Regions from separate parts of the Homo sapiens genome. Here all the other regions are linked to region 2. Evidence: promoter capture Hi-C in human tissues and cell types (Jung and others, 2019). All regions are on one chromosome and are shown on one strand. Each heading gives the region's core, a stretch centred on a gene start or on the middle of the fragment in contact. The rest is flanking DNA. Distances are from core to core; before and after follow the strand shown. Region 1 holds the start of MYH10 (myosin heavy chain 10). Region 2 holds the start of ALOX12B (arachidonate 12-lipoxygenase, 12R type). Region 3 holds the start of ZBTB4 (zinc finger and BTB domain containing 4).

The links. Contacts are between HindIII fragments. The study calls those that stand out against the background at their distance.
Region 1: the fragment with the promoter of MYH10 here is called in contact with the fragment with the promoter of ALOX12B in region 2 in 1 of the 25 tissues and cell types used here (stomach).
Region 3: a contact is called between the fragment with the promoter of ZBTB4 here and the fragment with the promoter of ALOX12B in region 2, in 1 of the 25 tissues and cell types used here (small bowel).

Annotation. Positions count from the first base shown.
Region 1 is chr17:8,628,391-8,633,193 of GRCh38, forward strand. MYH10 (myosin heavy chain 10) reads right to left here and starts at 2,335. Exons shown (of 43, transcript NM_001256012.3): 1 at 2,264-2,335. RefSeq lists enhancers at 708-1,486, 1,487-2,264, 2,265-3,042, 3,741-4,035 and a silencer at 2,527-3,206. The HindIII fragment of the contact is 16,199 bases long and covers 1-4,803 here.
Region 2 is chr17:8,086,422-8,091,440 of GRCh38, forward strand. It overlaps ALOX12B (arachidonate 12-lipoxygenase, 12R type), which reads right to left and starts at 1,295. Exons shown (of 15, transcript NM_001139.3): 1 at 875-1,295. The coding sequence starts at 1,021. MIR4314 (microRNA 4314) reads left to right here and starts at 1,635; the gene lies at 1,635-1,726. RefSeq lists an enhancer at 323-1,071. The HindIII fragment of the contact is 32,393 bases long and covers 1-5,019 here.
Region 3 is chr17:7,476,626-7,481,018 of GRCh38, forward strand. It overlaps ZBTB4 (zinc finger and BTB domain containing 4), which reads right to left and starts at 3,006. Exons shown (of 4, transcript NM_001128833.2): 1 at 2,831-3,006. RefSeq lists silencers at 2,313-2,362, 2,623-3,082, 3,103-3,362. The HindIII fragment of the contact is 10,425 bases long and covers 595-4,393 here.

The sequences.
Region 1 (4,803 bases), core at 1,085-3,584, 540 kb after region 2:
CTTTTCAAATCCCTCCCAGCACCTACTATGAGTGTGGACAGAGGCAAACAATTCAATTTTATGAACGGCCTGCACATAGAAAGGCAAACAAGAAGGATGGATAAATTATCCATGACAGAGCATCCATCTATAACAGATGAGCTAAAACAGAACTGTCCCAATTTGGGTACTGCTACCATTGAGGTCACTTACATGACAGGGCTGGACGAGTCTGCTAATTTATCAAAATCCTGCTCAACCCAATGATCACAAACACAAACCAAACACAAAAGGCCACTATTGCTACTTATGGCCTGCCCCATCTCCCAATTAATATCTCTATACTGTGTTTAATATTTCCAAAACTAGGATCCAACACCAGGAACTTTAATTCCTCACATGTGATAAAGTGCATAAACCGCTGAAGCATATAGTCTTCCACCCTACAACGTGCCCTTCAAGATTTCCTCCATCTCACCTTCCATCTCAGCTGCCTTCGTTATAATGATTTCCCTATGGAGCCCAAATGAAAAGCCAGGCTCGCAGGGGTCACATCCTTCTGCTGCCAAAGCTCGTGCTATATCGCACAATTACACCATATGCTTTCTCCAGATAAGGACGGGGAAGAACTGAATTTAAGATGCAGAAGTAAGGAGATGCATAAAATGGCCACTTTTCCAGAACCCGAGACAGGCAGGGCATACTTAAACATCAAAAGCAAGGGACTCAAAGAATAATTAATAAAGGCAGATTGATGAAGGAGATAAAACAATAAATAGATTATAAAGTTTTCCAGAGTGAGATACTATCAAGAATAATTAAACCTGACTCAAAGAATCCTCAGTTTCAACGTTAAAAAACAAAATCTCAGCAAAGCCAAAGTATTATGTTTGGTATTACATTATTCAGCGAAAACAGCAGTCTTTGTTTCATCTGCAGTCTGCATCTACCCCGCCTGCTTTCCCCTACCCCACCCCAGCCCACCCCACCCCCTTCCATCCACCGCAGTGATCTTGAAGGGAGCTGCAGAGGCCCTAAAGAAACAGAGATAACGGCTGTAGGCAGAGGCCACGTTATCCAAACCTCACCAGCCCGGTCTGACCCGCCGAGTCGCCAACCTCCTTCCTAAGGCCCTAGTTCCAAACAGGCCTGGCTGGGGGCCTCCCGCTTCCCAGGGCCGCATCCGCCCACCACAGGCCCACAAAGCCCCCACAAATGCCAGGACTCCGCGGCTTCAACTTCCCTCCGAACCAATTCCAGTCCGATTTTATGGGATCAGGGTGTGACCCCCAACTGCAGAAGGCAATGAAGAGACTGCGGCGAGCCATTCCCAGCTCGCTTACACAATAAAGGGATCCCGAGGCGAGTGCTGACCCTCCCCCCGGCCGTCCTGCTGCAGCGCGCCCCGCCACATTTCCCGCCTCGCCCCCTCAAACCGCCTGGGCCTCGCAGGGCGTCCACCCCCGGCCTAGGCGCTCCACGGAGGGCGCGGCAGGACGCCCTCCTCCCGCGCTCCTTCCCCGGCGCCGGCGGAGTCCGACCCTCCCCACGCCCGCGGCCGGCTCCGGAGCCCCTCACCCGCCGCGCGCTTCCCCGGCCGCGCAGAGCCAATGCCCTCCTGTCCCTCCACCCACGGGTCGGGCGCGCGCCGCCCGCCTTCCAAGCCCATGGTGAACCCCTCTGGTGCTGCGGGGGACCGGTCGCGCCAGGCCTAACCCACCCAGCAACCCACGCAGGGGCCCTTCCTGCCCAGCGCCCCCCCACCCTACCGCCGGGACTGCGCTTTCCAGCCCCGCTTAGAATCCCCTCTCTTCCTGGGAGGCAGACACTGGCTCGCGGGGCACGCCGAGACCTCCGCCGGGACACTAGCCCCTCGACCTCGCGCCCCCAGGGATCCCACCCACCGAGAACCTGGTCCTCACGTCCCCACCCCCAGATCTCCATCCCCCAGCCCCCCAGGGGTCGCCCTCCTGCACACCCAGGCCCTGACCCCCGCGGGTTTCACAAGGACTTCATTCCCCGCTCCTCCGGGAGTCTCTCCATCTCCACCCACTGAGGTCCCAGTGCCCCCAGCCCAGGACCCTGCTCAAACTAACCTAAGGTCCCCGCAGCACAAACCCTACAGCTCAGAAGCCCCTCTGTCTTCCCCAGCTCCCGCTTCGGTCCCCCGTTCCTGTCCTCCAGAGCCGCCCGGGACCCCTCAGCCCAGGAGCCATTCCTCCCTCCACAAACTGTCCCCCAGCCCTGGGCCGTGCACTCGGACCCGGGTAGCCGCACCTCTCACCTTCAGCCGAAGATGGTGGCGCGGGCGCACGTCCCCAGCCGCGACCACAGATCCAGCGCCTCAGTCCCAAACCCACCGCTGCCTCCGCCGGGCTCCTTTAGCACTGCTGCTCGGGGCTGCCCCACCCACCCCTACCCTCATTGGGCCAGCTCCACGCCCATCACCGCCGCCCCCAGACCCACTGGTTGGTTTGCGCGCCCATCTCCAAGGGAAGACGTTAGCAACCCGAACGAAGCTACCTTCCCGAGTCCGGCTCCCTCCACCCACCTGGAATGACGCTCATTGGCTCCCGCTCCCAGCCCAGGCCACAGAGGCCCCAATCTCATGGGCTGGCTCTTACGCCCGTCATAGGCTCCGGGAGGTGCGGCCGGGGCAGTGGCGCGGGATTGGCTGGCTCGTGCGTAGATGGACAGCTGAGGCTGGCTGAACGCCCGGCGATCCCGCGAGGCTGCGGGTGCGGGCCCCGCGGCGGCCGGCGCGCTGCGCTGACATTGGCTGTGCGGGCCGCGGGGCAGGTGGGCCGCGGCAGGAGGCTGGCGCTCTGACTGCAGACTCCTCGTCCTAGCGTCAGGCAGCCGCCGCAGCCGCAGCACATTCGAGCGCCCGGTCGCCCCCTGTGCTTGCGGCAGCCGGCATGTACCGCAGCGGGACGGGGTTCCACCGCGGAGTCGCGGGCCCTCAGCGTTGCCTGCAGGGGCGGGGCGGAGCGCGGTCCAGAGTCCTGACGTCACCCCCGGGGCTGCGCGGGGTTGGGGCCGCGGCGCTGCGACTCACCTGCAGTGGGGGAAGGAACGCGGGGGAGGGCGCTGCTCCGCCCATGCGCACAGGGTTTGGCCCGGGACCCGGCTGCGCTCCACGCTGCGGCCACTGTCCCGACCCCGGCCCCAGGCGGACTCTGCCGGGATCGGCCGAGCGCCAGGCGCAGGACACGGTCCTCCAAGGTCGCAGTTTTGGTGTTAGCGGGGTGAGAGGCTCTCCTGCCCAGCCTCCAGGCAAGGCTGAGATTCCAGAAGAATGAGAAGAGAACCGACCTTGGAGAGAAAACTTGGAAGAAACTTTATTCACCTCATTCATTCACTCGTTCAGTCGCTCCTTCATTCATTCATCAGAGCTCCCTACGTGAAGGGCTATGAGAGGTTCTTAAGAATATAAGGCTGGATTCCTGTAGCGCTGTCATATCCCCTAGGGCTTATGAAAACGTTGGAGACTGAAAAACAGTGGCCCCAAAATAACGAAAGGAAACTGGAAAAATCAAAGTAAATAAAATTTAATGAAATGTCTGCAGAATCTAGGCAACTGCAACAAAACTCTTGCATAATTATATATAAATATAATAAAGTCTAAATCACATGAACAAAATGAATTATTCATACAAAACCTGAAAGTCAAGATCATAAAAATTCACAGCAAGATGCAGTTATTAATCAGTTATTAATGTAGGCTATGGGAGCATTTTAATACATGTGATAATGATGTGTTTGCCTAAGCCTAGGAAACGTCTAGTCTGGCAAAAAGTGAATTAAGCAAAAAACAAGGCAGGAAGTCCTAAGGAAGGGTTGGTGGAATTCAGAAGAGGCTGGAAGGCAGCTGAGTGCAGAGTCCTTCCTGGGGAAGTCCGAACCAGGCTCTGTTTTGTCCTTTGTCCTGCTGCATCTGGTCCCCCACCCCCACCTGCCTGCTGGGGTACTACCCCGTGTCCAGGTGTCTTGTGACTTGGCTCTGTGAAGAGGTCTGTCCTTCTAATGCAGTCTGCACATGGAGTACAAATTAACTTTCCAAAATATATGAATGATATTCCTCTAATGAATTTTAAAATGTGTTTAGAGAAGACCAAAGACTCCCTCTCTGAGGCCTGAGTCTCCACTTTGTCAGCCACCGAAGTCATTTCTCAGTGCAATGTTCTATGCTTAGTGCATCCACTCGCGAATAACACTGTAAGCCACAGAGTCAGTAGTTTCTCATAATTCAAAAACTTTTGCATATATATGTGTATATATATGTATATATGTATATATATGTGTGTGTATATATATTTTTTTGTTTTGTTTTGTTTGTTTCTTTGAGATGGAGTCTCGCTCTGTTACCAGGCTGGAGTGAACTGGCATGTTCTCAGCTCACTGCAATCTTCGCCTCCCGGGTTCAAGTGATTCTCCTGCCTCAGCCTCCCTAGTAACTGGGACTACAGGCGCGCGCCACCACGGCCAGCTAATTTTTGTATTTTTAGTAGAGAGAGGGTTTCACCATGTTGGCCAGGATGTTGGCCTCGATCTCTTGACCTCGTGATCCGCCCGACCCGGCCCCTGAAAATGCTGGGATTACAGGCATGAGCCACCGTGCCCGGCCAACTTTCACATAATTTTAACACAAACTCAATGGACCATCAGAAGAGGAGGGCAGGAAGTTCACCAGAAGGAAATACCATAAAGACATTAGTCTTGATGAGAAATTAATAATAAAGAGAATATCCCCAAATGTATCTTTCCCCCTGGTGGCTCTTTGGCACTTGGGCCCTACATGTCCAACTGCCTGGATGAGAGGGG
Region 2 (5,019 bases), core at 45-2,544:
ACCCAGGGCTATGTAGGACTCCAGCCCCTCCTTCTCTCCATCCCCAGCTCCTGTCTTCTCCCACTCCCCTCTCCAGGCACCTGAGGTTGCAGGAACCCTTCAGACCCCTGGGGACTTGGGTACCACTCTACAGTTTTCGAGTGGGGAGAGGCCCAGCCAGCCCCTTCTCCCATTCATCAATGAAGATGCAGATATTCAGAATGGCCACATAGATAGAGTGACCTATTAAGGTCGCCTAGCAGCAGGTGGCTGGGTCTGACTGAAAATCAGGTCTGAGGACCCGCAAAGCGTGCCTTCCACTGGACAGGCTGGTCTGATGCCATTTTAAGTCACAGAGAATCCAGTGCAAATGTGAGACAGTTAGGAGGCAGCTGAATTAGGAAGAGTGACTGAGAATGGAAGAGAGAGGGATGCGGGAGAGGGGGTAAGACAGAAAGGGGAGGAGAGCAAAGGGGAAGGAAAGCAGGTGGAAAGGATTGAGAAAAGAGAGATGCAGGATAGGCAGAGACAGGGAGAGAGGGCTGAGGAAGAGGGAGAGAGAAGAAAAGGATGGGGAGGGAGATGAGGAATGCCTGAAAGGGTTAGAGATGAAGGAGCAGGATGGAGAAGGATGGCCCAGAGATCTGGGACATGGGCGAGGGGCTGGAAGCCAGCTCTGGACAAGGCGTGTAGAGCCACTGGGGAGCCCACTGCCTTCGGAGCTGTGCCTCAGCTCTCCAGCCTCTCCTCGCCAAGCTCAGCTCACCTGGCTCCCCCTGCGCACCTTCACCCCTCCCGGGGCCACAAAGACACACAGACACACACAGACACACACAGACACACACACACACACACACAGACACACACACACACACACACACACACACACTCTTACCGCCCCAGTTGCAAAGTCTCTCCCAAAGTGGTTCAGCAGCTGCTTATGGCTCTCTCCTTGTGTCCCCACAATGGTCAGTGAGATGGAGTCCCGTGTTCCCGACAAGAGGTCGGTGCCTGTGGCCACCCTGACTTTGTAGGTGGCCATGGCTGCTCTTCAGGAGGCAAGAGGGGCACTCAGTCCCAGACACCGTGGAGGGGCCACACGAAGGCCCAAGGCAGGCAAGAGAAGCCAGGCACAGAGTGGAGTGGACAGGGCTGGCCTCCGAGGTGCAGTGGTGAGGTGGCGAGGTGGGGTGACTAGGCCTGCCAGCCAAATTCTGGAAAAGCTGCTGCCCTTGGTGGCCGGGGTGGGTGCCGGGCAGGCCCAGGCGGAGCCCAGCTGGTGGTGAGTGAGCAGGTGTCTGGGCTCCAAGCCTTCTGGGAGCTGGTGGGGAGGAAGAGCAGGCAGGGCACTGGGCCTGCCTCTGAAAGGGCGGATAGAAGATGCCGTGGATGAAGGCGCCTTCAGGGTGGGGGAGCCAGTCCAGCCTGAGCCAGGGCCCTAGGGAAGTTGCGGGAGGGGGCAGGGTGTGGTCCCCAGATCTTTATCAGACTAATAAGCTCCTTCCTCCTGCCAGTCCCCATTGGCTACAGTGCCAGGCACCCCTACTAAGCAGGGCCATGGGCAGTGAGTGACTTGCATTGGTTCTGAGGCCACTGGTGGGCGGGGGAGGGGAGGGGGAGGGGCACTAAGTGGCAGCGCAGCTGGCCAGCCTCCAGGCCATTCCTCTCTGGGAAATGGGACAGGTAGTGGCCACAGTGAGAAAGCTGGCCTGTCCTTCTGCCCCAGGGCCCAGAGTCTGTGACTGGAAGGGTGGGAGGTGTTGAAGCTAGGGCTCGGGGACCACATGGGTGCCCAAAGGCCTGAAGATGCTGCGGGGAGGAACGATCAGGGTAGGAGAAGGGGATCTGTTGCTTCCTGTGGGGCCAGGATCCACTGGTGAGGGATTGGAGTTGGATATAAAATCAGAAGCCCAAAAAAAAAAAAAAAAAAACTAAATTAGAAGACAGAGTGAAATCTGGGGCATAAGAATTAAGTTAAATAGCTGGGCGTGGTGGCTCACGCCTGTAATCCCAGCACTTTAGAAAGCCAAGGCAGGTGGGTCACCTGAGCTCAAGAGTTCGAGACCAGCCTGGCCAACATGGTGAAACCTTGTCTCTACTAAAAATACAAAAATTAGCCAGGCGTGGTGGCATGCGCCTGTAGTCCCAGCTACTTGGGAGGCTGAGGCAGGAGAATCGCTTGAACTCAGGAGGCGGAAGTTGCAGTGAGTTGAGATCGTGCCACCGCACTCCAGCCTGGGCAACAGAGCAAGACTCCGTCTCCAAAAAAAAAAGACAAAAGAATTAAGTTAAATAATGGATTAATATGATCAATATTTTGTGGTATAATCATAAAATAGAATTCTACCCAGGAATAAAAAGAATGAACTGCAATGCGGATGAGTCTCACAAAGATGATACTGAGCAAAAAGAGCCAGACATTAAAGGGGATACGTTCTGTTATCCATTGATAGGAACTTCCAGAACCAGCAAAACTGAGCAATTCTCAGACAACCTCTACTGGTGAGTATCCCTGGCAGAGGGAGGCCATATAGGCTGCTGGAGGTGTTCTTATCTTGATCTGAGGGGCGTCTAGGGTACTTCATTCATTTCATTATGTGTTATCCTTTAATTTCATAAAGTACATACCCTCACTTCCCTCCCAAAAAAGAATGAAGCTAGGAAGAGGGCTGGAGGCAGGGCTGAGCTCCAGTGGAACTGTGTTTGTTGGGAACCAGGTCGTTCCTCCCTCAGATATGTAGTGAGCACGGTGCACGGCGTTCTAGGCACTGCAGAGGCAGAGAAGAAATGAAACATACATGGAGCTTACGGAATAGCTGGGAAAGAAGTGAAAGAAACAGTAAACAAGAATTTGTTCACTATAATTTTGGATACTAAGTGCTCTGAAGAAAATAAGCGTGGGAGGTTGGGATTGGGAACTAGTTGCTGATAGAATCACAGAAGTCAGAGCCGCAGGATAGGGAGAAGGTGTTAGGAGTAAGGTGAAGAGCATTATGAGAGAGTCAGAGATAGACTCTCCAAAGATAGGATTTGGGACCCAGGGAGAGTGAGGAGGCAGGCACGTTCCTATTCCCTTTTTCTGGACCTGTCCTCTTTCCTTTCACCTCCGAGGAGCAGCTTCTGTCAACCAGGAAGCATAGCCCTGCTTTCCTCCCTGATGGCACGCTTCCATCACCATCGAAGGAAGGTCATTCAATGCCCAGGCCAAGTTAGGGTCAGAGGGGGCTGGGATTGTGAGATGAAGAGAAGGTTCCAGTAGGTTCCAGACTGGATGTGGAATGGGGTCGAAACTGCAATTCAGGTTTAGGTTAGAGACACAGATGTGGCTGGAGTTGGGGATTGAAATGATCTTTTCCAGACCCAAATCTGTTCACATCACTCTCTATGTTCCCTCCTCCCAACCCTGATCAAGCCTGGCAGTGGCTCCTCTTTACCTTTGGGACAGTGACACCATCCCCTCCCGTGGCCCCCACGGCCTGCCTGATTGGCTTCACCCCTCACATTCCCCTTTGCTCTCTTCTGTCTGGGACCACGTGCCTTTCATTCATTCATCAACAGACACTGGCCGAACCCCTACTGTGTGTTCAGCGCTGTGTCAGGTCCTGAAAATACAATGCGATCAAAGCAAACCCCTGCACCCATGGAGCTTGCCTTCAAGTGAGGGAAGCAGACAATATTACCTAGTAACCAAATACATTAAATAGTATGTTAAATAGTGATAAGTGCTGAAGAGAAAAGAGAGAACAGGGAAGGATAATATAAAAAATAGAGGAGTGCCGGGCATGGTGGCTCATGCCTGTAATCCCAGCACTTTGGGAGGCTGAGGTGGGCGGATCACCTGAGGTCAGGAGTTCGGGACCAGCCTGACCAACATGGAGTAACCCCGTCTCTACTAAAAATAAAAATTAGCCGGGCATGGTGGCGCATGCCTGTAATCCCAGCTACTCGGGGGCTGAGGCAGGAGAATAGCTTGAACCCAGGAAGCAGAGGTTGCAGTGAGCCAAGGTCATGCCATTGCTATCAAGCCTGGGCAACAAAAGCGAAAATCCATCTCAGAAAAAAGAAAAGGAGGATATTTTAGATACAGAGTGGCCAAGGAGGGCTCCTTGGGAAGAAGACTTTTGAGTAAAGACCTGAAGGAAGTGAAGTCAGCTCGTCACCATCCCAGGGCCTTGGCACATGCTGTTCCCTCTCTACCTCTCAAACTGAGGTCACGTTTCCTCTTCCTCCTGATCTTAGCTCAATAATTGCTTTTTCCAGGAAAGCCAAATTTCACTATACATGGCTCTCACAGCACTATAGCTAACATCTTTGATTGATGTCTGTTTTCTCTAATAAATTAGTCCATACTTTTTTTTGGTTTTGTCCCCATCTCCTGGTGTCATACTTGGTACCTGGGAGACACCGAAAACATAGTTGAATGGGTTAATGACAAGGACAAGGTCAGGGCTGGGGATTGAATCGATGATGGCTTTGGAGTTATGGTGAAGATCCGAAGAGAGCTGACTTGGGCTCAGGGTGAGAGAAGGGGCAAGGCGTGGTGTAGGGGAGGGAAAGGGGTTGGGTGGGGAGGGAGGGAGGAGAGGGGAGAAGGCTGAGGATGAGGGTTGTGCCCAGCTCTGGGTGGCAGGGCTGGCTGTCCTGGGCTGCAGACAGAAGCCGTCCAGCTGGATCTCCCCCCTGGGATCTCCCTCCTCAACCACCTCGATGACTCTTGGAGGATGCTGGGAGCCTGAAGATGCAAATCTTAAGATGCAAATTCCATGCAAATTCTCCCAGCTTCCTCTTTCTAATCTCTCCCCTTTGCCCTGTGTCCCCAGGGGGCTGCTGAGGCTTGGTGAGAAGCAGGGCAGTGGACTGGGCAAACTGAGTCATATCCTGCTACCAATAGGTCTCCTCCAACCCAAATCCCAGGGTGGCCCTGGGTTTGCTCAGGGCTCCAGTGTGGAGTGGGAATTAGGTTCCTGAGGGAGACGGAGATGGAGGCAGGGATGCTGAGGATGTCAATGTGGCTGGGGCAGGGACAGGGACGGGATCAGG
Region 3 (4,393 bases), core at 1,756-4,255, 610 kb before region 2:
TCTGACTCCAAGGCCACCTCCTTCTTGGCCCTCCCTGATCCACAGGATGAGAACGATCATTCCTTCCTCTGACTCATCAACCTTTTGTGCTCCTATGGCCAGCATCCACCTTACACAGCAGCAGAGACTCAGGTTCTCATGCCCTCAGCTGGGGATCCCTGAGCATCCGGGTCTTCTGAAATGGACTGCTGCAAATGCTAAGTTCTGCAGCAACTGGGGAGAAGAGTGTTGGAGGGAGTTGCACAGAAAGGACCATCCACTGAATGTTCCAGAAGGCAGCAGAGTACAGTAGTTAAGAGCACAAGATCTTCAACCTGATTGCCCGGGTTCAAATACAGCTTCACCTCTTACTAGCTAAGTGACTTGGGGCAGATTACTTAACTTCTCTGGACCTCAGCTGCCTCACTTGAAAAAGGGAGGTAGAGTGCCTACTTCAGGGTGTTGTTCTGAGGACAGAGTGGCCACATATAAGTGCCCTGAGGACAGGCTGGTGCACGGTCAGTGCTAAGCAAGTGTGTGCTGCCATTATTATCAGCGAAGCCCCAAGAAGGGAATTCCCAGTCCTGGGGGAGGGCTGACAGGGGCTGGCATAGGCACAGCCCCCAGACTATAGCCACTTTCCGGGTCCGTTTCCCATGTGCTTTTGGAAGATACGCAGGGCAGACAATCAGCCCCATTCTGCAGATGAGGAACTGAGCTTCCTTCAGATCAAGTGCCAGTGAGGGAATGGTAAAGACGCCAGAGCTCCTCAGCCCTGGACCATGGCTCCTTTCTCTTCACCAGACCGTCACTGTGCACCTGTTGAGCAGGCTCCCACGGCAGCCACCCCTTCCCAGCCCCCCATGCCGGAGGGCCTGTCCGCAGCACCCTCCCTTCCCCCACGTACACACATCCTTCCAGTGGGGCCGGGCACAGTAGACAGTGGTGTGCAGGCTTGGAATGCACTTGCACACACACCCCTAGAAGGGCCCAGTCCCCAAAGGTGAGGAAAACCTGTTCTGAGGAATCTGCCTAGTGAGCGAATTCTGTTCTGAGGCCCTTCCACCGTCGCAGGAGTGGGGCCCAGTGTGCGTCAGAGATACCCACAAGGGGGGCAGAGAGAGGGAGAGGGTGAAGCAGGAGGAGGCTGAAAACTTCACGTTTCTTTTTTCCATTTTAGTGACAAGAGTCACACCCAGCCTTTACATAAACATGGCCAAGGAGCCTCTCTGTCTAAGCTTACTTCCCTTGTGGCCGCCCAGCCTCTCCTCCGGGTGACCCTGACACGCTGGGCAGGCTCATGAGGGGCAAACATACAGACCCTGCAAAGATTAGCTGGGCCATCTGACAACACCCATGCCTCCCGCCGGCCTCCATGCGCTACCCTGCATTTATCTCCCGCCTTCCTCATACCAAATCCCCTCCGCAGCCCCACCGCCACTTAAGCACACAGACGGCAGGCACGCACACACAGCCTGCTTGCGGCTGGCCTCTTGGGTCTGAGGCCCACACTGCCCTTGTCACGCCACCTCCCTCCCCACATGTGTTTTCTGACCAGTTTGCCTCCCAGCTCAGCAGCCCAGACAGGCTCCTACAAACAACGTCACAAAAGAATCCTGTGGAGAATGTTGCAAACACACAACCTTCCCCTCGCTTGGCTGCCCATGATCCCATAAACACAACTGGCGCATTCCACCTCGAGCCCCTCACACCAGTGCCAACTGACCCACAGGCCCCTGAGACATACCCCGGGGTTCCTCGCTCCTCTCATGATCTTTGGGATCTGAGTTCTAGACGCGCAGCCCCCATGCAACGCGCTCATCACAGACACGCAAACCCATCCATCGCCCTCTTCACCACTGGACCACACCTCAGCAGGGCCACAGAAATGGGACCCAGACGTGACGCCTTCTGACTCAAAGGCCCACAACCGCCCCCTCCAAAAGGGCACATACACTGCATCCTGGCACCCTCCGCAACACATACAGCATGCCAGCTCTGCAGAAAACAGTTCATAAACAGGTCATAGGTGCAGCACAAGACACACATGCGAGAAAACACATGCTGTAGAAAACATACAGCCCCACATCGAACAAACTCTGCACCCAGCATGCTGTGCCCTGCTCAGAATACCCATCTGTCACCCAAAGCCACAGGGCTCGTCTTGTAACTCTGCCCCACAACACTGGACACCCTTCCTGGCTTTCTATCTCCATGGCCCAGGGAGGGCCCTACCCAGACCCCTGGCTGCCAGCAAACGGTGGTGCCCAGGAGAGGTTTACCTTGCCCCACCACACAGCACAAGACACACGATCTCCAAGACTCACAGCCACAACCCTGCCCCGACGGCGCGGCGGTTCCGGGGCCCCAGCTCGCCCTGCGCACCCCGCACACCCCAACTCTGGGGCGCTCGGCGGCCCACCCCTCCCCCTCTCTGCCTGGCTCCTACGCCATCACCCTCCCAGCAGCTTGCAGCGCTTGCCCGGGCTCACACCCGCCCCACCCCACCCCCAATCTGCCCCACGGGGGGAGGGGGCCATTAGGCTGCAGAATTAACCCTTCAAAGAGGGAGTGAGCACCTCCCCTTCCACGGCCCCAGGCGATCGCGTCCCACGGCCGCCCCTCGCTCGGACGCCATACCAGGGCCCCCTTAGTCGCCCCCCAGCGTCGTGCGCGCCCGGGGGCGGGGCCAGGCTCAGCCCCCGACCCCTGCGCCCCCAGGTCAACCCCAAAGGAGAGCGGTCTGGGCGCGGGGCGCGGTCGGGGCTCCCGCAGCGCCGGGCAGCGGAGAGGGGGCCTGGCAGTTGGCTCCGGTCCGCCCTGGCCCTGCCCAGTTCGCCCCAGGGCCCACCTGACTGCGATGGCGCCGCGTCCGCCAGGCCCGGCTCATCACCGTGGCCGCCCCCGGCCGCTCCGGTTTTGCCCGCCTCCAGCTCCGGCTCCGGCTCCAGCTCCGGCCCTGGCCCCCCCAGCGCCTGGCCCCGGCCCGGCCCCGCTGCCGCCGCCGCCGCCGCCGCTGACATCATCGGCTCCCCCCGCCCCGGTCCTACCCCCACCCCCACCCCCGGAAACAGTCCCCCCCCAGCGCCGCCGCCGCCGCCGCCGAGAGGAGGCCGGCGCAGCGCAGCCGACACCGACACAAAGCTCCGAGCGCCCGACGGCCTTCCCCAGGACTGACCCCCGCGGCATGACACTGCGCCGCGCTGGGCCACCGGGCGGGTGGACACCGAGCGGGGCGCGGGCCGGGCTGCAGCATCCCGGCAGGGGCGCAAGACCACCGACCCCCAGGGAAAGGGCTCCCTCCGCCCTTCCTCCTGCACGCCCTTCACTCAGCGGTGCACACTGCCTGAAAGCATAACACACAGGCTCTCAGGGTGCAGACATGACATGGCAGACTCATAATCAGGCCCGGTGGGACTCACAGACCCAGGGTCGGCACACTCAAAGAGGGCCAGCCCTGGACACACACACACACCCTCTCCAGGAATGCGCAGGAAAGCTCAGCAGGCCGCGGAAAAAGAAGGCCCTGGCCCTGCATACGGGGCACACACGAACGACCACCAGCGCAAATGAACACATGAAGCTGGCTGGGTACTTTGTCCCCACCAGCAGATAGATCCACATCTGTATACTTGAACATAAATGCAGAGGCCTTGGTGTCGGCCTCTGGGGACAGCATCAACAAAACACCAGGTGGAAGCACACACAGAAAAAACACATTCCTGAAACTCCACAGGGACAATCCCAAGAACTCCTCCCTGGTGCTGGAAAATTAAAAACTAAGGAGATGGAGGAGCCAGGGTTCACAGCTCCTTGCCTTAAAACCTCTCTGAGGCTGGGCGCGGTGGCTCACGCCTGTAATCCCAGCACTTTGGGAGGCCGAGGTGGGCGGATCACGAGGTCAGGAGATCGAGACCATCCTGGCTAACACGGTGAAACCCTGTCTCTACTAAAAATACAAAAAAATTAGCCGGGCGTGGTGGCGGGCGCCTGTGGTCCCAGCTACTCGGGAGGCTGAGGCAGGAGAATGGCGTGAACCTGGGAGGCGGAGCTTGCAGTGAGCCGAGATCTCGCCACTGCACTCCAGCCTGGGCGACAGAGACAGACTCCGTCTCAAAAAAAAAACAACAACAAAAAAACCTCTCTGAAACCATGCAAGATATAAATAAACAAATTAATGTAAAGCCACAGAGCTAGCCATAAAAAGAATAAAAGAATCAGACAAACTTTGGAGTCATGGAGACATAAATAGAAAAGAAGCAGAGTTGGGCTGGGCACGGTGGCTCATGCCTGTAATTCCACCACTTTGGGAGGCGGGGGGTGGTGGGGTGGATCACTTGAGGTAAGGAGTTCAAGACCAGCATGGCCAACATGGAGAAACCCCATCTCTACGAAAAATAAAAAATTAGCGGGG